Regions from separate parts of the Homo sapiens genome. Here regions 1, 2 and 3 are each linked to region 4. Evidence: promoter capture Hi-C in 16 types of primary human blood cells and fetal thymus (Javierre and others, 2016). All regions are on one chromosome and are shown on one strand. The core of a region is centred on a gene start or on the middle of the fragment in contact, and the rest is flanking DNA. Distances in the headings are between cores, read along the strand shown. Region 1 holds the start of LINC00842 (long intergenic non-protein coding RNA 842). Region 2 overlaps LINC00842 (long intergenic non-protein coding RNA 842). Region 3 overlaps LINC00842 (long intergenic non-protein coding RNA 842). Region 4 holds the start of SYT15 (synaptotagmin 15).

Region 1 (5,310 bases), core at 1,119-3,618, 180 kb after region 4:
TATATTAAATACATATAATTAAAAATAGAAAGAAGACTAGCATTAGACAAAAGCTAGAGAAGTAGGGAAAGTACATATATTTTTGCGTATTCCTAGAGAATTTCTAGAAGCATATACAGGAAACTTAACAATCGTGAGAGAGTTTGGAGAGGACTTTGGCTGGGGGTTCTGGAGTGGTGCAGAGATTTATTTTCACCACTTACTCTTTTGTACTACTTGATTTTCTAGAAGCATATGCAAGATGAATTTCTAGAAGCATATACAAGAAACTTAATAACTGTGAGAGAGTTTGGAGAGGACTTTGGCTGGGGTCTCTAGAGTGGTGCAGAGATTTATTTTCACCATTTACTCTTTTGTACTACTTGATTTTTATCAAGTGCGTGCATTACTTTTTTGCCTTTTAGGTTTTTATTTTATGTATGTTTAGACTTTTAAATTTTCAAATAATCATAGATTGACAAGAATTTGTGAAGGGGTCCCAATATCCTTCACCCAGTTTCTCCACTGTTTACGTTTTACATTCTACAAAACAATATCAAAACAAAGAAACTGACATTAGCACAATGTGTGTTCTTCTATTACATTGTATCACATGTGTAGATTCCTGTAACCACCAAGACACAAAACTATCCCATCATCCCAAGATCTCTCCTGCTACCTCTTTGTAGTCACACTTCCCCACCACCGCCTCTAACGCCTGCCAACCACTAATCTGTTTTCACTGTTTATAATTTTGCCCCTGGAAGAATGTTATACAAGTGAAATCGTACAGTATGTGACTTTTTGAGATTGGTTTTTTTCACTTAGCCTAATGCTCTTGAGATCCATCCATTTAGTTATTTGCATGAATAATGTTTCTTTTTATTGCTGAATATTGGCATAGATGTGTCACTTAGTTTAAGCATTCACTTAGTGAGGGACATTTTGGTTCTTTTCTAGTTTCTGGCTATGATAGGAAGACACAGGAGAAAATCATCTGGACCTAGGAGTTGAGGATGAGTTCATAGGCATGGCACCCAAGTACGATTCATTAAAGAAAGAATTGATAAATTGGACTTCATCAAAATTAAAAACTTTGCCTCTGCAAAATATTCTGTTAAGATGATGAAAGGACAAGCTATGGAGGGGAGAAAATATTTGCAAACTGCATATCTGACAAAGGACTCACATTTACAATGCATAAAGAGCTCTCAAAACTCAACAGTAAAAAAAAAAATCTGATAAGAAATTGGGCAATAGACATGAAGAGACATTTCATGGCCGAGTCAAATCAGCATGTGGAAATATATTTAACATCATTAGCCTTTGGGGAAATGCAAATTGAGATCATGAGAAATCACTGCACACTTATTTGAGCAGTTGAAATAAAAATATAATGATAAAACCAAATGCTAGCAAGGATGCAGAGAAACCAAATTTCTCATCCCTTGCTTGTGAGAATATAACATGATACACACAGCCACTCCCAAAAATAGATTGACAGTTTCTCAAAAAACATGCACTTACCATATTACTCAACAATCACATTCCTGGGCTTTTATCAGAGAAATTATAATTTAAGTTTGCACAAAAAGCTACACACAAATGCTCATAACTGCTCTATTCGTCATGTTTTTATTGGCAGGTAATTTACATACAAAGAAATTCAAAAATCTTAAATTTCACAATTCAATGTGTTTTGTCAAATGCCTGCACTCCTGTCCCTCCCCCACTGTAAGATTTACAACACTCTAGCACCCCCAAAAAGTTATTTCATGCCCCCTTCAGCTAACCTCTACCATGCCACTCCATCCATAAACCCCAAAGCAACTATTAAAAAAAAAAAAAAAAGGCAAAAACCGCAATTACTTTTGCACCAACCTAATACTAGTCTGATTTTTAAATCACAGATTCATTTTCATATAAATGGAATCATACAATGTTTATTCTTTCATACCTGACTTCTTTCATTCAGGAACACGATTCAGAGCTTCTGCTGTGCAGTAGGGGACATCAATAGTTCATTTTCTTTTTATTGTCTGCTAACATTCCATTGTATGGATTCAACCTAGTCTGTTTATTCATTCTTCTTACTGATGAAGTTTTTTTCTCACGGCTTAAGTCCAAGGTGTGTCTTTTTCGTCCAGCCAGGTGGCCCCGGCAGGTCGCTCCTCAGGGACCCACATGGGTCAGGGCGGTGCAGCAGTGACCCACAGGGGCCAGTGCAGTTGAAGTGGCTTTGAAACCTGATTGGAGAAACAGACTGCTCAGCTGTTAAGAACACACAGCGCTCCAGAAAACTGGTGTTCAACACAACGCGTCACTCCGGCTTCCACTGCTGCTGCGGAGAGTCAGGTTCTCCGGCAAGGCCCCGCGCGCCCGCCCCCGCGCGCCCGCTTCTCTGTCCAGGGAACGCCTTTCTGCGGGCGGAGGCGGCTACGAGGGGGCGCTGCGAAAGCGGATTTCCAGGCACGCCTGGCGCCACTAAGCGGCGCTGAGACGGCGCTGCCTCCTGACTGCCGGTTGGAGGCTACAGGGGCTCTGGGGCAAGGGCCGCTTTTAGGAGTTTGCTGGTCACGAGGGGGGACGCGACCTCGTCCAAGATCTGTCTGCAAGGGACCCTTCCCAGCCGATGTGAACACAGCCCGGGGAAAGGGGTCTTCCGGGGAGCAAAGGCAGCCCGGGAAGAGGAGTAGGGGCTGAAACCAAAGGCAGCCTGGGTACCCAGGTTTTCCCAGGGGACAAGTCCCCCAGTTAGCTGGGCACAGGGAGGCATGGAGAGCGGCAGCAACTGCGTTGGGATGGGGCGGCTGCCCCAGGTTGGGGCGGTGACCCATGTTCCACCAGGCCAGGCGCAGGGCTGAGGTGGCTGACTCCTGTTTCACAAGTGAAGACCTGGTCACCCCAGCAGCAAGGCATTCCGGAGTGGGAGAATTCCTGAGTCCTGGGGAGGAAGCCGTGGTTACAGGGCTGTGGCCCTGAGCAGGAGCTGGCTGGCCCAGCAGGGTGGGCCGAGCACTTCAGTCAAGGCTGAGCGCCAGGCACCAGGGACTCAGGTCTGAGAGACCTGATGTACATCCTGCTCCAGAGCAGATCACAGAGATGCGCCCGCATGAATCCCCAGGCTAAGCCCAGAATTCCGTGGAAGATGCCCATGGGCCAGGAACACGGGTAGTCACCGCGCTAGGGCATCACACAGGGCCCCCCTTGGCCAAATACCACGAGGGAACTTAGACACCTGCATGGGGCCATGGAAGTGCCTGCAACCTCACACTCAGGCCTAGGGCTTACCGAGGTATTGCAGATATTTGTGTTCTCAGAGTAGGAGCTTAGGAATCAGTATCTTCTCTTCGCTACAGGGACAGAGATGCAGTGGCCTAGGACACATCACAAATATTTAAAACGATGTCCTTGGTCAAGGACAGAGGTAGCCAAGGCCAGCCTTCTCCCAGGAAACTAACCCAGGACCCCAAAGCACAGAGCTGTTAGGTGGGAGGGAATTGGTCTGTATGTCTCCCTATAGTGTTGCAACACTTCGGCGCTGGGCTCCCTGTCCCAGACTCACCTTCTATACTCAAGCCAGAGGCCTACGAAAGCCGGGTTAAGATCTTCCCCTGCCTGTCCCTGTAAAGCTTCCCCACTGTCTCTGGAAATCATTTGAGCTTCTTAGCCCCACAGCATGAGCCCGCTCTGACTCAGGCCCTGACAAGCTCTTTCTCTTCTGTCTCTCCCTCCTCTGTTGATATGGACACACCATTCCTTTGGCATGTCTAGTACAGACCAGATCCCCTGCTGTTGTTAGCATTCCTCCCTCTCCCTGGAATGTTCTTCCTTATCTGTCTACCTGATAAGCACTGAGTCATCCTGCAAAACTCTGCACAGCTTTCACCTTCCCTGAGGAGCCTCCCCTGGCCAGCCCCACCCTGTTGCAGGCAGAATGCTTGGCGGTGGGTTGCTGACCACAAATCCATTCCCCCTTTATTCCTTGCCAAGGGAATGCTGATTTTGCTCAGGTTGTCAACCCTCAGGGAGGTGACCCTAAACATGCCAAGTCCAACACACTAGCTCTACCCCCTGAGAGCATGAGAACAACACGGATGGGCATGTGCCCGGATCTGGCTTTGCCCTCATGGACTGCAGGTCAGGGGTGGGAAGCTCTTATAGAGCAGCCCCAGGAGCCCTAGGGGCCATCCTGCTGGCCATGCCATGGCAGTGTCAGAACCCCAAACAGCACCTGGGGTGAAGGAGCTACTGAAAGAGTGGAGAGACTCCACTTTGTCCTGTTAGATCTGTCTCAGAAGTATTTTTATTAGGATTGACTGGGTAAGCTTTCTTCCACAGGGAGCCTAAGGGGGCCCAGAGATTCTTCTCAGAATTGGAGGCCATCAAGGATTGGCTCAGGCTCGCTGGCTACTAGGCTCTCCTGTTCCCAAAGTCCATACTCTTGTTTGTTGTTATTCAAAAATATTTGTTGAAAGCCTGCTATCTACTAGGCCCTGAATGTTTAAAAACAAATAAAGTTCCTGCCTTCAAGGGGCTCACAGCTTTTCTGAGAGGACACGTAAACAGATAAAATGTCATTAGGGTGTAGTTCTGTGTAATAGAGGGTGTTCTTAGGTGCTGACAAGAGCATCTACTCTGTAGTTTAAGCAGAAAACAAATGTATGAAAGGCTATTGGACGGCTCACAGAATTCTGTGCGGCACGAACACTGTGTCTCAAATCATGCTGCAGGACAAACTTGGGGCTCAGTATGCTGGACCATGTTGTGCCTTCTCTCCCAGCCAGTGCTGCAATGGAAGAAAAGGAATTCAGCTCCTAGGAAATGCAAAACATTGATCTGAGGATAGAGAAGGAGTATATGTAGATATCATCTCTTGGAGGGAATTAAAAAGCAACGATGATAGAGCTATGGCAAGGCTACAGGTAGGGAATACCTATGGCAAAGAAAAACCAGAGCTAGACGATAAAGTAGTAAAACCAGATTTTATTCAGGACTATTGCAATAAGCGAAAAGAGACCTCAATATACAGTCAGGCTGATTCTAAAAACAGCATGAGAAGTTGAGACTTGGAGCCATGGAGCAGGTAGGAGTTGAAAGATGGAAAATTACCAAGAGGAAATGCCAGGGGTGAGGGTGATGCTGGCTAAACTGACCTAACAGGAGACCTGCTGAAGAAAGGCCAGGGTGACCAGACATCACCTGGGAAGGTGGAGGATGAGGACCCTGATCGGATATTGGGAGTGGTCAGATAGGAACAAGGGGAGTTCTTGCTGAATTGACTTAGTGGGATTCTTGCTCAAATTGAATTTTACAAGAAAGTACACAGAT
Region 2 (5,433 bases), core at 2,413-4,912, 140 kb after region 4:
GATGCAAGTTACAGAATCAAAGATGTGGCCCCTGGTTTTGCTGTGTCCTCCTGGAATGGGTAGCAGGACAGGAGCCACCATGCAGAGGGTGGTCACACACTCGGGCTTGCTTTAACCTGGGTCTTTCCTTACCAATGCATTTCTGGCTACACTGGGGAAAACGAGGTGGCTAACACATTTTTTTTAGGTGTTAGAAGACCTGTGTGCACTTTCTCTCTTTCTCCCTGCACTCCAGCCACACTGGCCTTTGAGTTTGTAGAATGCCTACACTCTGCTCTGCCTCAGGGCCTTTGCATGTACTGTGCTCACTTTATGGAAAGCTTTGCTCTCAATCTCATCCAATCTCTTTAATTATTTGAATGCTATCCATCCTTCAACATTCAGTTCAAATATCATAGCCAGTAAAATCTGCTGTAATAAACTCTCTTAGTTTCCTCCAATTTTTCTTCCTAATATTTATCTCAGTTTGTAGTCATGTATTCTTGCGATGGTTGGGCTAATATCTGCCTCCTCACTGGTGTTTAACCTCTAGTAAACACTAGAGGTTTAATCTCTGAGGTCACATCTCTGAGGGCAGAGATATGAGTGACAGGTCCAGTCTTATTCCCAACATCAAGGCCAGAGCCTGTCAGGCAGCAAATGCTTAGTAAGCATTTGTTGAGTTGACTTTGAATTGTCAGAGCCAGAGGGTCGGTTTAGCATTGACACATGGGGGACATCATGGGAGAAGCCACGTTTTGTTAGGACCTGGCCCTGGGGAGATTTCTTAAGCCAAAGGCTTTGGGTCTGCCACCCTTCCATCCAAGGAGAAGTCTGAAGACAGGGTCAGCATTTTGTTTGTCCTCCACAGTTGCTAACTTTTTTTTTATTTTTTGAGACAGAGTCTCCCTTTTTCACCTAGGCTGGAGTGCAGTGGCATGACTTCAGCTCACTGCAACCTCCGCCTCCTGGGTTCAGGCAATTCTCCTGCCTCAGCCTTCCGAGTAGCTGAGATTACAGGCATGTGCCACCAAGCCCAGCTAATTTTTGTATTTTTAGTAGAGACAGGGTTTCACCATATTGGCCAGGTTGGTCTTGAACTCCTGACCTTGTGATCCACCCTCCTCGGCTTCCCAAAGTGCTGGGATAACGGGCGTGAGCCACCGAGCCTGGCCCACAGTTGCTAACTTTTAACACACAGGACATTTCATGTAAAAATTGTGACTTGCAGCTTCTTTTGAAGAATCTGAAGTCAAGCAGCCCTGGCCTGCATTTGTGCATGGCTACCTTTGTGGGATCTTGGTCACAGCTGACCCTTTGGGTGGGCATGCTACTCTTCAGTTAGTTGGGCCCTCTTCACTAGTTTTTTCACTAGTTTTTAGCACCTGCTTGCCCCTGTTAGCAGGTATGGACTTTTACCTGAACACTCAGATTAGAAAGAGATGGAAAAACCACATGGCCTTGCAGAATAAGGGAGATCTCATCTCCATGCAATGAGGAATCAGTGGCAGGCCTCTTTGCAGAACCTCCCTGGAAGGGAATTGCTATGGTTGCATGTGTCCCACAAAGTTTATGTGTTGGAAACTTAATCCCCAATGCAGCAGTTTTGAGAGGAGGGAGTAATGTACAGAAAAATATCCAGAAATCTGTACAGTTGATATGGCTTGGCTCTATGTCCCTACCCAAATCTCCTGTTGAATTGTGGTCTTTAGTGTTGGAGGAGAGGCCTGGGGGGAGATGATTGGATCATAGAGGCAGATTTCCCCCTTGCTGTTCTTGTGATAGTGAGTGAGTTCTCATGAGATTATCACTTCCCCTCCTGCTCCACCATGTGAAGGATGTGTTTGCTTTCTCTTCCCCTTCTTCCATGATTTTAAGTTTTCTGAGGCTTCCCCAACCATGCTTCCTGTACAGCCTGTGGAACTGTGAGTCAACTAAACCTCTTTAACTCATAAATTACCCAGTCTCAGGTCATTCTTTATAGCAGTGTGAGAACAGATTAATACAACAGGGTTCCCCATGGATCTGTTATAAAAATTAGGTTGTGGATGTCTATCATAAAACTCCAGGAGGCTGGGCAAAGGGTGATTGGAAAGCAGTGAGCAGGCACTTTCAGAGCTCATGTGGGACATGGGGGGACTCCTGCATTCCTACCAGCCAGAGTGGAGCGTCCTTGTAGAAAATCTGGTGCGTTCAGTTGACATCCCAGAAAAGTCATGTCTTGGCAGGAGGAGTAAAGAAGCCCTAAATAAAGTCTAATCTAACCCCTTTCCTTCAGTCAAAGCTTCAAAACAAACCTCAAAAGGGTCAGGGTAATTTCTAAGTAACTCAGCTGGCTGCCAGAAAAATATCTACCAATCTTTAGAGGAGGACAACAAAATCTAGCATTAAGTAAGGTATAATTAACAATGTTTGGTGTCATATAAGAAATACAGACATGTAAAGATGCACAGAAGTGCAACTCCTACCAAGAGAAAAACCAGTCAATAGAAACACACTCAGGAATGATGGATGTTGGAAATAGCACACAAAGGATTGAAAACACCAATTACAGATATACACACGAATTTAAAGGAAACATGAAAGTAATCATCAAAGAAGGAGAAAAATTAAAAAGGAAATACAAGGGCCAAAAATAAAAATCTTAAATAAAAAAATTTCTTTATGAAATGAACAGATTAGACGTGAAGAAGAAAAGATCAGTGAACTTGAAAGTTGCAATAGAAACTTTCAAAACTAAAATTCAGTCAAAAGAGACTAAAAAGAAAATTTAAATGAATCTTTAGTAACCTGTGGGAAAATATTCATGCAAGTATATGGATCACATACTTGTAATTGGAAGCTGAGAAGGAAAGGAAAGAGGGAAGAGAAAAAATATTTGAATAATGGTAAAAAATGCTCCAAATTTGATGAAACATACAAAACCACCCATCCATGATGCTCAATAGATCAAAAGCAAGATAAGCACAAAGAAAACTATGCAAGGTAAAACATAATCCAATTGCTAAATGCCAGTGGCTAAGAAATGTGGGTGGGCTTCATCAAATCTATTGAAGATCGGAATAGAACAGACAGACTGACTCTCCTGCAAGTAAGAGAGAATTTCATCCTGCCTGACTGCTTTGAGCTGGGAGGTGGTTTTTTTTTTTTCCTGCCATTTTTGAACTGAAGTATCAGCTTTTTATGAGTCTTGAGCCTGCCAGCCTTTGAACTGGAAGTACACCATTGGCTCTGCTGTTTCCAGCTTACTAACTGCAGATTTTGGGACTTGTCAGCCTCAATAATCATAGGAGCCAATTCCTTACACACACACACACACACACACACACACACACACGTTATGCATATGTACAAAATTATATATAGTTATATATTATATTTAAGTATAATCATATCTATCTATTCCAAAATTGGGTCTCTAATCTGATTACATTTTAAGTTGCTAATAACTTTATTTCCAATTGTAAAGAGAGCACTAATAGTCCATGGCATGATCTAGCAATAAAGATATCACCACTGGATACTCCTAATCAACCCCTTATAAGAGACAAGGAGCTGGGTAACGGTGTATACTTTCAATTATTTTCCTCACACTAACAAATATAATAAGACTCACCAGGTGTTTCTAATGTGAAGTGATACTAAGTGGACAAAGGATGAAAAACACTTAATGGTAAGTATGTGGGTAAATACAAAGGCTTTTCTCATTTTTAAATTTCCTTAAAAGATAATTGATTGTTTAAACAAAAATAATAACAATGTACTGTGTGGCTTATAACCTATTAAAGCAAAATATGTAATGATAGCATGATGGACAGAATGGAGGAAACGGAAGTATATGGTTGTAAGGTCTTACATTGTACATAAAGTGTTATAATAGTATATTTGTAATGAGCTAATGATACATATTGTATACCCTCATGCAACCACTAAACATGAAGCCAGAGTTATAGCTAATGAACTCACAGTGGAGATAAAATAGAACCATAAACATTTTTAATTCCTCTAAAAGAAATCAAGAAAAGAGAAATAAAGGATGAAGAACAGATGAAATAAACAGAGAACAAATGACAAATGGTAGATTTATACCCAACTATACTGATAATTATATAAAATGAAACTGGTCTAAAAATTCCAATAAAAAGACAAATATTTTTAGACTGTATAATAAGGCAAGACTCAACTCTATGTTGTCTGAAGACCTCAATAATTTAAAGGCACAGGTAGGTCAAAAGTAAGAGGATGGAAAAAAATATACCATGTAGCACCAATTATAACAAAGTTGGAGGGGCTAGTTAAATATCAGAAAAAGTAAACTTCAGAACAAGAAATATGCAGAACAAGAAATAAACGAGAACATTTCATAATGATAAATTTATCAGAAAGAGAAAAATTGTAAACATATATTCACCTAATAATAGAACTTCAAAATATGACAAAGAAATGGACAGAAATGAAGGGGGAAGTAGAGAAATCTACACTTATATTTACAAATTGTCATACTTGTTTCTCAGTAACTTATAGAACAAGTAGAAAAAATGAATAAAGGGGAAGGACACTTGAACAATATTACTAACCAACTTGATTTAATTGATGCCTATAGAACCTTCTACCTAAATACAGATTTTTAGGTGTAGTGTTCTATATCCTAGGAATGCAAAGTCAGTTTAATCAACAGCGCAATAAATCAATCAATGCAATTCACCGTATTCGTAGAATCCACATTGTTTCCAACTGAACACAAAACTTTCATTATAATGGACCATATCTGGGGCAGAAAACAAGTTTATACATTTAAGAGGACCAAAATAATATAGAACATGTTATCTAAATTCAGTGGAACTAAAATAGAAGTTAATAGCAGAAGGATATCTAGAAAATCCCCAAGTATTTGGAAACTGAGCAACATACTTTTAAATAATACATGGATCAAAGAGAAAATCACAAAAGATATTTTAAAATAATTTTTCCTAAATAAGAATTAGAACACAGAATATCAAAATTTTTGTAATGATTAGAGACAAATTTATAACTTTAAATGATTTTTATTAGAAAATATAAAAAGTCCAAGGTCAATGATTTAAGCTTTACTTTTAGAAGTTGGAAAAAGAGGAGCCAATTAAACCTAATGTAAGTAGAAGAAAGGAAATCAAGTTAATAGCAGAAAACAATGTAATAGAAAACGGAATAATAAAGAAAGTCAATAAGATAAAAAGTTCTTTGAAAAGATCAATAAAATTGATAAACTCCTAATAAAAAGTCATAAAACAAACTACCAACATCACTAATAAAAGAGGGAATAAAAATTACAGACTATGTAGAGATTAAAGAAATAATATGGGGATATTATAGAAGCTTTACGGCAACAAATTTGACAACCCAGAGGAAATGGGAAAATTTTTCAAAAGAAAAATTACTAAAGCCCAGTGAAGAAAAAATAGATAACCTGAATAG
Region 3 (5,528 bases), core at 250-2,749, 160 kb after region 4:
TCACTCTCACAGCACATCTTGTGATCAATGTAAAACAAACAGATAGGAACAAATCAAATATGAGAGAAGGGTTTATGGTGAGAGAAAACAGTTTCTATCCTCTCCCCTCCCCAGTCCTGGCCTCACTCTCCAGAGGCAACTTCTTGTAAACATTTCCATTTTTAGTACTTCTGGTGGGTGCCTCCACAATGCTTAGTAGCATGTATAGGCACCCTTATTTTTTTATTCATCTGGAGAAAATTTATCTACCTCCTGTGATGGAACATAAGAAATGGCCTCATTATGCACCTCTGCTTCCTCCCTTCATCCTTCCAAAGTTTTATCATTTTGGCATAATTATTTTTAGTTTTCTGTTATTTACTTTTAAAACTTTAAACCATATAATTGTACTTTGATTCTGCATTCCATCCACCTCAGGGAGAGTAACGGTCTGGGGCGGTCAGGTTGGGTCTGTTCCCATACCCTCCCCTTCTTCTGAAAGGACTCTCCCCTCCCTCCCGGGGGCCTGTGCCCATGACCAGCCAGTCACAGGGCCAGGCATATGTCCTGGGCCCTGGCCACTGTGGGATACAGGCATGCTCCCCAATCTTGACCACTAGGAATCCTGCAGGACTTTCACTACTAAAACTGCTCTCTTCAGGTCACAACAGTAACTATCAGTTCAACTACAACAAAGGTTTCTGAAGACAATGGCTTCTCCACCCAAGCAGGTTGTATATAAATTCCAAATAGAACTTGGCATCACCCTGAAGGAATTCTAACTTCACACTGTTGGGGAAATTTACCAAGATAGCTTCAGAGTAAACTAACTTTACACAGCACATTAAAACAAAAGACATTTATTCAGCGTCATGATCAGACTATTACATTTAGCAATCAACAGCATGGGTGCAAAAAAAAAAAAAACCTATATTAAAACCCTTAGCTGGAATGCTTTACACTTTCCACAGAACAGAAACTAAAATAACCTGTTATACAGTTAGTCACAAATACAGTCCTCGAATTTTTTGCCCATACACATGAGTATTTGTCTAAAACATGTCTTCTTTGTAGCAGCTAGGCCCTGCCACCACTGTGCTTGGCTGAGTTCACAAATCTGTCGTAACCTGTAGATTCCCTGTCATTTCTCTGGCTCTCCTCTCCTGCTAAGCTTTGTTTCCTAATTAAAATCTGCCACTGCCATAGCTACTGCTGCTGCTGGAACCGCCAATAGCCACCTTGGTTTCATGGTTTTGCAAAGTATAGGCCTCCATTGCCACAGGGGCCAGAGCTTCTGCCTCCAAAATTTCCTCCCTTCATGGGTCCAAAATTTGAAGACTCATTGTTGTAATTGCCAAAATCATTGTAGCTTCCACCACCTCCAAAATTGCTTCCATCATTACCAAATCCATTACAGCCATCCCCACTGCCACCATATCCACCACCACCACGACTGCCACCAAAGCCACCAAGACCACTGAAGTTTCCTCCAATACCAAAGTTGTCATTCCCACTGAAACCACCTCCACGACCACCACCAAAGTTTCCAGAACCACTTCGACCTCTTTGGCTGGATGAAGCACTAGCCATCTCTTGCTTTGACAGGGCTTTCCTAACTTCACAGTTGTGGTCATTCACAGTATGGTATTTCTGAATGACAATCTTAACGACGGAGTCATGGTCGTCAAAAGTTACAAAGGCAAAGCCCCTTTTCTAGCCACTGACTCGGTCAGTCATGATTTCAGTCACCATTAAAAGGGATTACCCAAGCAAAATCATGGAATTATTGGTTATAAAAGTAATTGTTGGCACATCCTATGTAACATATCTAATTGAATAATGGTACCAGATTAAATTATAGATGGGAATGAAGCTTGTGTATCATCCATTATCATGTGTAATCAATAAACAATTTAATTCTCTTGAAAAAAATAAATAAAACTGCTCTCTTTTGTTCTGGGATTACCTCTAGGAAGGAAATGTAAAATCAGCTCTTGTAGGGTGCCTCCAGGCCCCTGACACGTGGAAAGATCGTGCAGGAGAAAACCAACCCAGAGGTCAGTGGAGGTGGAGAGGAAGTTGTGAGAGAGATCAAGCTGTGGTGGTGAGAAAGGCAGCTAGTCCTGCTCACTGAAGCCTCCATTGCTTCCGGACTGTCACAGTTACACCGACCTGACAATTTCAGTATTAGCATTAGAGAATTGTTTCAGCTTTCCAACTAACGCAGGGTGTATTGTACACCCCACCTCAGGTAAGATGAGAATTAGCACGTAGGCTGCCTGTGCTACTTTTCTGTTGCTGCTGTAACAAATTTCCACAAATTTATGATTTGCTTAGAGCACCACAAATCTTACAGTTCTGGAGGCCAGAAGTCCAGCATGGGCCTCACGGGGCTAAAATCAGTGTCACAGGGCAGCTGTGTTCCCATGAGGCGGCTGTGTTCCCATAAGGCTCCGGGTGGAGACTGTTTCCTTGCCTTTTCCAGCTTCTAGAAGCTGATGGAGTTCCTTGGCCAGCCACTTTCTCCCTCCATTGTCACAGCAGGTGTGGCTTCACTCTGACCTCTTCTGCTTCTCCCTTCCACCGAAGGGCCCCTGTGGTTACACTGGGTACACCTGGGGGCTTAGCCTGTCTAATATTGCCACACCCTCTTGTGAATCTTCTTTTTTCTTTTCTAAGAGATGGGGTCTCGCTTTGTTGCCTAGGCTGGAGTAGGGTGGTGTGACGGTAACTCACTGCAGGCTTGAATTCCTGTCCTCAAGCGATCCTCCTGCCTCAGCCTCCGAAAGTGCTGGGATTACAGGTGGGAGCCACAGTGCTAGGCCTCTCATGAACCCTGTCTTCCAGAAATGTGTTGGACTCTCATCCATTAGTAAGCCATCTTTCTCTCTTTTTTTAATGCTTTTCCCTTATAGATTTACTCCATTTTAAATTTATAAGCTTAAATTTCAGTGATGATGTCTTAGGAAGAACAGGAGAGGAGGAACAAAGGAACAAACCACTTTAATGGGAAGCTGAAAGGACCCTTTTAAAAGTGTGCAGTGGGGAGAGCCTGGGCTTGGTCTCTGGTAAACCTGGTGAATGGTGGGTTAACACTCCCTCCCTCACTCGGTGTTGCTGGGAGGATAAGACAGAACTTGTGGCGAGCAGGTGTCCAATAGCTGCCTCTTGCTATGTGCAGCCAGTGCCACATCCAGGCTGAGTGCTGTGGGGAGTGTGGCTCATCCCGCTGGGGCCACCCCAGGCCTCGCTCACTGGAGACTCCAGAATCAGGGCTGACTGAGCAGCTTGTGGCACTGAAGAATGTTCTAGGAAAGGAGGTGTGTCCTCCTTGGAAGGGGAAGCTTCATGGTGGGTGAGCTGAGGGTAAGGGGTGGGTGAGGGCCATTTGAAGAGTCACCTCCCCTACATTCTTTTATCTTTTGGAGCCTCCATCCACGCCACTTCAAACAATGAACACACACATCCAAGTCAGTAAGTGCACTTTGTGTATATCTATATAAGTGATGCGCAATTACTATATAACAGTTCACTAGCTGACCTGACATTATTCACATATCGTAGGCATGTGACTAATTGTAGGTGTGTAATGAAGTGTTCACATCTTATTACATATTTAATTCCTAAGGCATTTCTACAGTTTTATTTGAGAATTTTGGAACTGCCAGTATGTTTTTCATGTTTCAAACCTTTTCACAGGCCCTGAAAAAACCCAAAGGCCTTATATTCTGGGACCGTAATGGACAAAACAGCCCTGGGAAGTATGCTTGAGAGGATGGCGAAGGCTGGGTTTGCTGAGGGAGGTGCCAGCTAAGGTGCTGGGCACACCAGAGGCAAGGGATCTGGACCACAACTGTCAGTTTGACGAACACACTAATGGTGGAGTGACCCCCACCAGGAGTGGCCAGCAAGCAGGGTCCAACAGGAAAGACATCTGGGAGGCCAGCAGGTAGAATCCTGGCTCTGCCACCTTCGTGCTATGTGATATCAGCCAAGTTACTTGCCCTCTCTGATTCTCAAATGCTCGGAGGCCCTTTGACCTCTAGAGTCTATGGGACCTGAGTGACCACAGGGCTCTTGTTTGTTGGTGGCTGCCTCTTTATTTAACTCCTTTTCTCAAATACGGTCTATGGGCTTTGCTTAAAGTGAGGTGTCCTGTGCACACTCTTCTCCATGACTTTGAGGCCGTGAGAAGCCCCGCCCTGCAGAAGGACTGAGGAAACTAGTGCTGGAGTCTCCTTTCTTGTATCAGTGAAGGAAGGGGAGAGAGGAGATAAAGTGCTCAGGTTACAGAATGTGAGGATCATGCCCCTTTTTTCCAACTGAAGACATTCCTAGGCATTTTATCTCCCCTGTTGCAACTCCTAAATCACAAAAACCTTATGCATCCAGTTTGGCTGACATCCACCTGCAATGGGAGTGAGTGAGATTGAGCCACTCCTCAGGTGAATGGAAAATTAAGGCCAACCAAGGCCCACCCCATGCCCCACTGTGGGGTCTAAAAGGAGCAGGCACTGGCCTGCTTTCTTTTTCCCTAAAGAAAGCTCTTTGGGGACCCAGCAGAAACAGCAGAGGTGGGGATGCGAGCTTCCGCCTGCATTTGTTCCAGGGTGGGCCAGTGAGGATTTGGGAGGAATGGTGTGGAAAGGCCCTGCCCAAGAAGGCTGGATGCTGGCTGGGGAATGCCCAGGGTGCCAGCTCCCTACCCTGGGGAAAGGCCAGGCTGGCATATGCCGGAGCCAGGGTCCAAGGTCACAGAGAGGCCACACCTGGGCACCCCTCCCAGCAAGGGAAGGTCCAAGCTGGGAATTACTTCTCTTTGGAAAGTGAGGGGAGTGGTACAGAAATATTGCTATTGTTGCTGTTGTCCTGTCACTTCTGGCATTGGAAATGGTGTTGAGCTTCTACGTGACGGGCATTGGAGGTCAAACCTGAAACAGGTGAGGCCCATCCCTTTACTAGGCTCACGTTCTAGGTAGGGAGGAGGCAGGTACCTCCTCCACCTAAGAAACAACAAGAGATAGAGAATGCAGTAACTGTCCTAAAGAGAAAAACCAGGGGATGGAGAGAGAATAATGGTTGTCAGGACGGGTCAGACTTTAGGATGGTAAATGAGGAGTGGTCTCTGAGAAGGGATGAGGCAGAGGAAGTGAGGCTCAGGGAAGTGAAGCACTTGCCCAAGGCAGCCTGCTGGTCATGGCAGAGCTGGCAAGCTCATTCCCTCCTCATTATGTCAACCTTCTGGGACCAGAGTCTGGGCAGGGCAGAAACTACTGCACCAGGGGTGCGTGGCTCCAGCAGAGAGAGACAAAGTGCCCCATGCAATCCAGAAACTGAGCCCTCTGGGCTCAATCTTCAAAGGAATGACTCTCAGAGTTGTGTCCCCTGCCTTTTCTTCACCATGGAACTTTTCCCAGCTCCACTCTGGTGGGCTTGGGGACAGGACCTGCCCTCTGCAAAGTGATGACCAAGGATAAGTCGCATTTTCAAGGAGACCTTGGAGAACACCACCCTCTTATTGTGCAAAAGAGGAAACAGGTCCAGAGAGG
Region 4 (5,679 bases), core at 1,643-4,142:
TCCTGCTCATATTCCACCGAGAACCACAGCCGCCCCAGGCAGCCGTCGGGGAAGTCGGTCTCACTTTTGTCCTCCGGGAACTTGTACAGCTCTGGGTTGATGGCCCCCACCATACATGCATCTCCTATGACAGAGGGTGGGAGGGCTGGCAGGCCAGAGGAAGGCAGGGGCATGGGAGACAGTGGCAAGCTCTGGGCACCCATCCCCATCCTGGCCCATCCGTCTCTGCTGAGCCTCAGCTAGCCTGACCACATCTGCCCCACTCTCCTCACCAGGCTAAACACATCCCCTCTCTCTGGTGCAGCTCCTCCAAGAAGCCTTCTCACCATGAAGGCATTGCATGGCCAGGCTGGGGATCCAGCAGAGTCCTGCCCCCTGGGATTGGCCCCCATCCTTGGAGGTCAGGACCTGTTTCAAGGACACAGTGCCCATCACCTGGCCTAGCCCCCTTCCATGGCGTCTAGGGAATGACTCAGCGATAAAACATTGCCTTTCTTCTTCCTCTTCAAATTAGAAGGGCCAAGGTGATTATTGGGTGGTTCCTGTGATGGTCTCTTGGTAGATCTTCAGGGCAAAGAGGTGGCAGAAAGCTGTGTTTGCAGCCCCTACCATTCTGTCCTCTTGGTCAACCAACCCATCATCCTAGAGTGGGACCCAGCACAAGTTCTGTACATGGCGTGCCTGGGTTCCAATTCCAATCTGTTGCTTACAGCCTCAGTTAAGACTATGTAAAATGGGGTGATAATTCCTCCCCCTCAGAGTCATGGTGAGGTCTCACTCCAAATCAGCACCCAAGGCCATATCTTACCCTCATGGGGTGCAGCAAGCACTTCATAAATGAAAGCACCCAGAAAGAGTGGTCCCTGGGTGGTCCCTGGCATCCCTGGCTGGTTCAGGTTGTGTTCCGGAGCCAAGCTGGTGAAAGCAGATGGGGCCACCCGAGCAGACCCTGACCTCTGGGCAGCCCTGGCAAGGACACTCACCAAGGCCGCCGCTGGAGGTGTGAGGCAGCAGCTCTGATGCCGGGCAGGGGTCCCATGGGGCATCGGCCCACTCTCCACTGTGCAGGGGCACCCAATCTCGGCCTTGAAGGGTTGGGGGCACCACGAATGGCACAGCTGGTGGCCTGTCCAGAGTCAGGGAGACAACATGTAGGTGGCAAGTCAATGGTGTGGTCTCAGAGCGCTCAGCCAGGACGGTTGAGCACCAGGGGCTGGAGGAAGAAAAGCCATCGGGAGCCAGGAGGAGGCCAGGGCACCATTTTCTGGGCCCATACCAGGCAACACACACACACACACACGCACACACACACACACACACACACACACACACACACACAGCAGTGGGATTTGAAGAAGGAACACAGCACCTGACAGTGTCAGCCAGTCTGGGTTTGGATTCCTGTTCTGCCACTTACTAATTGTGTTCTCTGGACCTGTTGCTTATGTGCACTGAGCCTCAGATTCCTCACCTGGAACATGGGTTTCATAACACCTGCCTAATAGCTGATGTGAGGTTTCTGGGGTTTCTTTGTGATAGCTCCCAGCACCGAAGCAGCATAGAAGAGGCACCCCCATAAACAGAACTTTCCTTTTCGACCCCACCCTGAGGGAAATTCCAGGGGCGCACTTGGCCCCACATCCTGCCTCACCTGCTCAGTTGGGTCCTAGCATGCGGCTGGCAGGGCCTGTCCCGCTGCCCACTGGAGGCAGCTGTGGTGGCCATGGCTGGTGTCCCAGGCAGCTCCTCATAGGTGAGGGTGGCACAGAACCTTCTCCACAGACAGCAGCTTGCCCCGATCAACAGCAGCAGCAGCAGCCCCCCGATGGTGCCCCCAATCACCAGGGCCAGCTGCTCTGGGGGCAGAGACCACCAGTACTATGATGCCTGCCTGGGAAAGCCACTCTCCCTCACAGCCCTGGCCTGCTGGGGCAGAACTAGGGCAGCAACCCTGCCTCTGGGTTTGATCTCAGGAGTGATAGGAGCAGGCCTGCTGGGGATGGGTTCCGGGAGGGATGCTGCTGGCTAGGTTCCGCCAGCTCTCAGAGGAGAAGCCGTTTACCCCAGGGTCTGAGAGCCCTGGGCAGAACCTTCTAGTTTTCCTTGGAAAACAGCTGGCCCTGCCCTTGGGATTCTGGCTTAAAGAAGCCATTTCCTTGCGCTTCTGAGTAGAAATCAAACCTGCCCTCACCAGAACCTCCATATCCCCTGGGCTCCTGTTGAGGCCAGGAGGGGAGCTGGGGTGTGGACGCAGTCAGTTAAGGAAAGCCCTGAAAGGTACCTTCCCCCTGGTCTGCAATCAAACCTCTACCCTCTGGGGCCCTGGAACCTGCTGCAAGGCTGGACTCTTCTCTAACACCCGCTCCCTCCCCTAGCCCTCTATCAAGGTGAGCACGCGCTTAGGGGAGTTGGTGCGACGCGGTGGACGAGGTGGGGAGGAAAAGGGGGCAAGACCCCGTTGCTGCTGGCCCTCACACGTCCGCATTTGCGGGACCTAGGAGGCTTCGCCCCGGGGGTGCTCAGACGCTGGGTTCCAACCGCTGGCCACCTGGGGCGGGCCAAAAAGGTGCCTCCCTTAGGGTGACGTGCGGCCGCGGGGCATTCAGGTCTCAGGGATCTGCACTGGGTGGGGTGGTGAGAAGGCCGGACCCCCCACACCTCCTAAGCCGCAACTGACCGCGAAGAGCGGGCCTCAGCGTCTACTCCATCCCAGTGCCCCTCCAAGAGCGCGCCGAGGCCGGGCAGGGCAGGCGCTGCACCCCAGCGGGGGCGGCGGGGCGGAGGCAAGTGCTGGAAGGGTCGCAGAGGGGCCGGGGCTGGGCTGGGGAGGCGAGGCTCGCTTACCCGCCATGGGGCTGCTCCCGCAGGCTGGTCTCGCCGGTCTGGGCGGCTGGGGCTGGGCTGCCAGGCCGTCTCTTAAAGCGCCGCGGGGCGCCGTCGGGCGAGCACAGGGGCGGTCCGTGGTGCTGCTGGTGCCCAGCTGCGGCGCGGGGAGCCGCGCAGTGCACGGCAGGGGCAGGGACCCAGCGCCCCGAGGCCGCAGTCCCGCCCCAGCCCGTCCCTGGCCCAGGCCCAGGCCCGGCGGTGGAGGGGCGCAGAGCCGACCGTGAGCTCCCGGAAACCGCAGGGCTCCAGCCAGGGCGGGTCCCGGGCGCCAGGGGCGCCAGGGGCTCCCTGCGGCTTGGGGCAGGGTGGGGTGAGAGTACCACCCCCATCCCGGAGAGCAGGGCTACAGCCTTCACCGCCGCGTCTGACACAGGGCTCCGCACCCGACCCCTCACACCTGGTGGCCAGGACTGAGCCCCCGCCCTCCCAGATCCTCCTCAAGCCGAGGCCCCTCCAGCCGCAGCTCCGACCCCGGCTCGGGGGAGCCTTCCCGGATCCCGGGGTGGAGTCTCCGCGCGGGTCCCCGGCCCCAGCGCTGCCTGCCTGATGGCCTTGGGCAGGGATGCGGCGCTCGCGCACCCGTTCGCTCTCAGCGGACAAACCGGTCGAGAGCGCAATTCTGGAGCGGGTTCCAGAAGCTCCTGGGTTCCAATTCAGGCTCCTCACTCGCCAGCCCTGCGATTTGGGACAACTTAACGTTCGTAAGCTGGGTTCAGTCTTCTCAATTGGGTTAATGTCCGTGAGGGGCTCTCGTAAGGGCGGCTGGCCTGCCGGTAACTTAAGAAGCATGTAAAGAGCACTTAGAGCGGAGGAGCGGCGCGGCCCAGCCCCTGTTACGGTGGTTATCGGATGGAGGCCAGCGTCGCCTGGGTCCCCTCTGTACACCCAGCGCCTATTATTATGGTGATTATTAGAACGCAGGGCCCGTGCCCACTAGTCCAGGCTGGCGAACGCGCCTTGCGGGAAAGGCGGGAGTAAGGTCGCTGCGTGTCCTCTCTGGTCACACCTCGGCGCGCCCTGGTCGCGCCCCTATGGTTCCCCCGCCGAGGCCTCGAGGCGTCTGAGTGGGGAGCGAAAGGAATGTGTGTATCTGTGGTGCAGGGGAGTGTGTGTGTGTGGGGGGGGGGAGGGGGTGGTTGTGGGGGAGTGCGTGTTTTGGGGGGATGGACCTTCTCGTTTTACAGCCTTGAAGGTTATGTCCAGAGTCATAGCCTGGGTCCCACACCCCCGCGTCACCTGTGCCTGTCCTAGGGGGCAGTCAGTGTGCGTGAGGCTCCACCCTGCCTGGGCTTTGGCTCACCTAAGGCGAGGAGGGTGGTGAACTGGGGTGCCCCACTGGGCCGGGTCTGGGAGCCCTCAGCGCCAGGGTGCAGAGGCCGCAGCCACTCCCCTTCTAGGGTCTGGGCGGTGGGGGCATGAGAAGGCGGAGACCCAGGCCACTTCACCCAGTAACTGTCCTCAGCTGTGCGCTTAACTGGCGAGATCTCCGCTCTACTTGGAGACAGTCTGGGGTGTCTGGAGAATCCTCCCCCACTTCTGCTTACCCCAGGTCGCTGTGGGAGCAGGTGTCTCAGGAAATGGGGCCTGGGTCCCACCCAAGGCCTCGGGTCTGAGTTAGATGTCTGTATGTTTGTTGTTGCCCCTGCAACAAAGTACCACAGATTGAGTAGTTTAAGCCACATGCATGTTATCTCACAGTTCGGGGGGTCGGGAATCTAAACTGGGTTGGCAGGGCCTGTGCCTTCTGGAGGCAAGGGAGCTGTTTCCCAGCGTTTCCAGCTCCTAGAGGCTGCTAGCTAGTGGCCCTTTCCTTTGTCTTCAAAGCCGGCAGCACAGCCTTTTCTAACCTCTCCCACTCCAGGTCATTTCACATCAACTCTTTCTGCCTCCCTCTTGTAAGTGTGATACCCTACCTTGTTTTAACCTGAATTGACTGTCCCTTAGCTGAGAGAGCCAGACACACTCCATTTTGGCTCCTTCACTTGCAGCCCCTTACCCACCCCCCTTCCTCAAGGACTTAACTTGTGCAAGCTGACTCCCAGCACATCAAAGAATGCAATTAATGGATAAGATACTGTGGCAAGCTATATCCGCAGTTCCCAGGAATTTGCCCAGTTGATAGTACCCTAAGCCCCCACATTTGTGTCCGGTTGATGGTACCCAAAGCCCCCGCATCTATCGCCTTGTGATGGATTTAAAACCCCTGCACCTGGAACTGTTTGTTTTCCTGTAACCATTTGTCTTTTAACTTTTTGCCTGTTTTGCTTCTGTAAGAGTGCTTCAGCTAGGCTCCTCCTCCCCTTTCTAAACCAAAGTATAAAAGAAAATCTAGCCCTTTCTTCAGGGCCGAGAGAATTTTGAGCACTAGCCGTCTCTCGGTTGCCGGCTAATAAAGGACTTCTGAATTCATCTCAGAGTGTGGCGTTTCTCTATAAGAGGCTCATCAGATAATCCAGGATAACCACCACCCCCATCTCAAGATCATTAACTTAATCACACCTGCAAAGCCCCTTTTGCTATGTAGTCACGGGGTTGGGGATGAGGACTTGATATCTCTAGGACCATTGTGTGGACCATGTTGTCCATGCAGTACCCTGGGAGGGGTGGCTTACATTTCCCCTTCCTCTGTCTAGAGTTCAGTGTGCCTCAACACTGGACTCAGGCAGCTAGCAAGGCTCAGGGGACCCCTACATGGAACCCGTCAGCTATCTTGACCCCTTCCCCCAGCTGCCATGCACCCCCACCTGACCACCCCAATGGGGCATGGCATCCACACCAGCTGCCTCCATGATT

What was found. Contacts are between HindIII fragments. The CHiCAGO score rates a contact against its expected background, and 5 or more counts as called.
Region 1: the fragment with the promoter of LINC00842 here is called in contact with the fragment with the promoter of SYT15 in region 4 in 5 of 17 cell types (M0 macrophages, endothelial precursors, M1 macrophages and 2 more); the score reaches 7.4 in M0 macrophages.
Region 2: a contact is called between a fragment that was not itself captured here and the fragment with the promoter of SYT15 in region 4, in 1 of 17 cell types (monocytes). The highest score is 5.1, in monocytes.
Region 3: a contact is called between a fragment that was not itself captured here and the fragment with the promoter of SYT15 in region 4, in 2 of 17 cell types (endothelial precursors and M0 macrophages). The highest score is 5.9, in endothelial precursors.

The regions. Positions count from the first base shown.
Region 1 is chr10:46,395,420-46,400,729 of GRCh38, reverse strand. It overlaps LINC00842 (long intergenic non-protein coding RNA 842), which reads right to left and starts at 2,368. Exons shown (of 4, transcript NR_033957.2): 1 at 1,937-2,368. RefSeq lists an enhancer at 3,493-4,108. The HindIII fragment of the contact is 4,014 bases long and covers 1-3,609 here.
Region 2 is chr10:46,433,387-46,438,819 of GRCh38, reverse strand. All of the region lies in intron 1 of LINC00842 (long intergenic non-protein coding RNA 842), which reads right to left. Among named protein-coding and RNA genes, the nearest start is that of NPY4R, 30 kb to the left of the region's middle. The HindIII fragment of the contact is 2,801 bases long and covers 2,262-5,062 here.
Region 3 is chr10:46,412,053-46,417,580 of GRCh38, reverse strand. The region is part of intron 1 of LINC00842 (long intergenic non-protein coding RNA 842); the gene reads right to left. It also overlaps the pseudogene HNRNPA1P33. Among named protein-coding and RNA genes, the nearest start is that of LINC00842, 16 kb to the right of the region's middle. The HindIII fragment of the contact is 702 bases long and covers 1,149-1,850 here.
Region 4 is chr10:46,576,341-46,582,019 of GRCh38, reverse strand. It overlaps SYT15 (synaptotagmin 15), which reads right to left and starts at 2,892. Exons shown (of 8, transcript NM_031912.5): 1 at 2,845-2,892; 2 at 1,652-1,856; 3 at 984-1,126; 4 at 1-124. The coding sequence starts at 2,851. RefSeq lists enhancers at 1,270-2,149, 2,150-3,027. The HindIII fragment of the contact is 10,756 bases long and covers 1-5,679 here.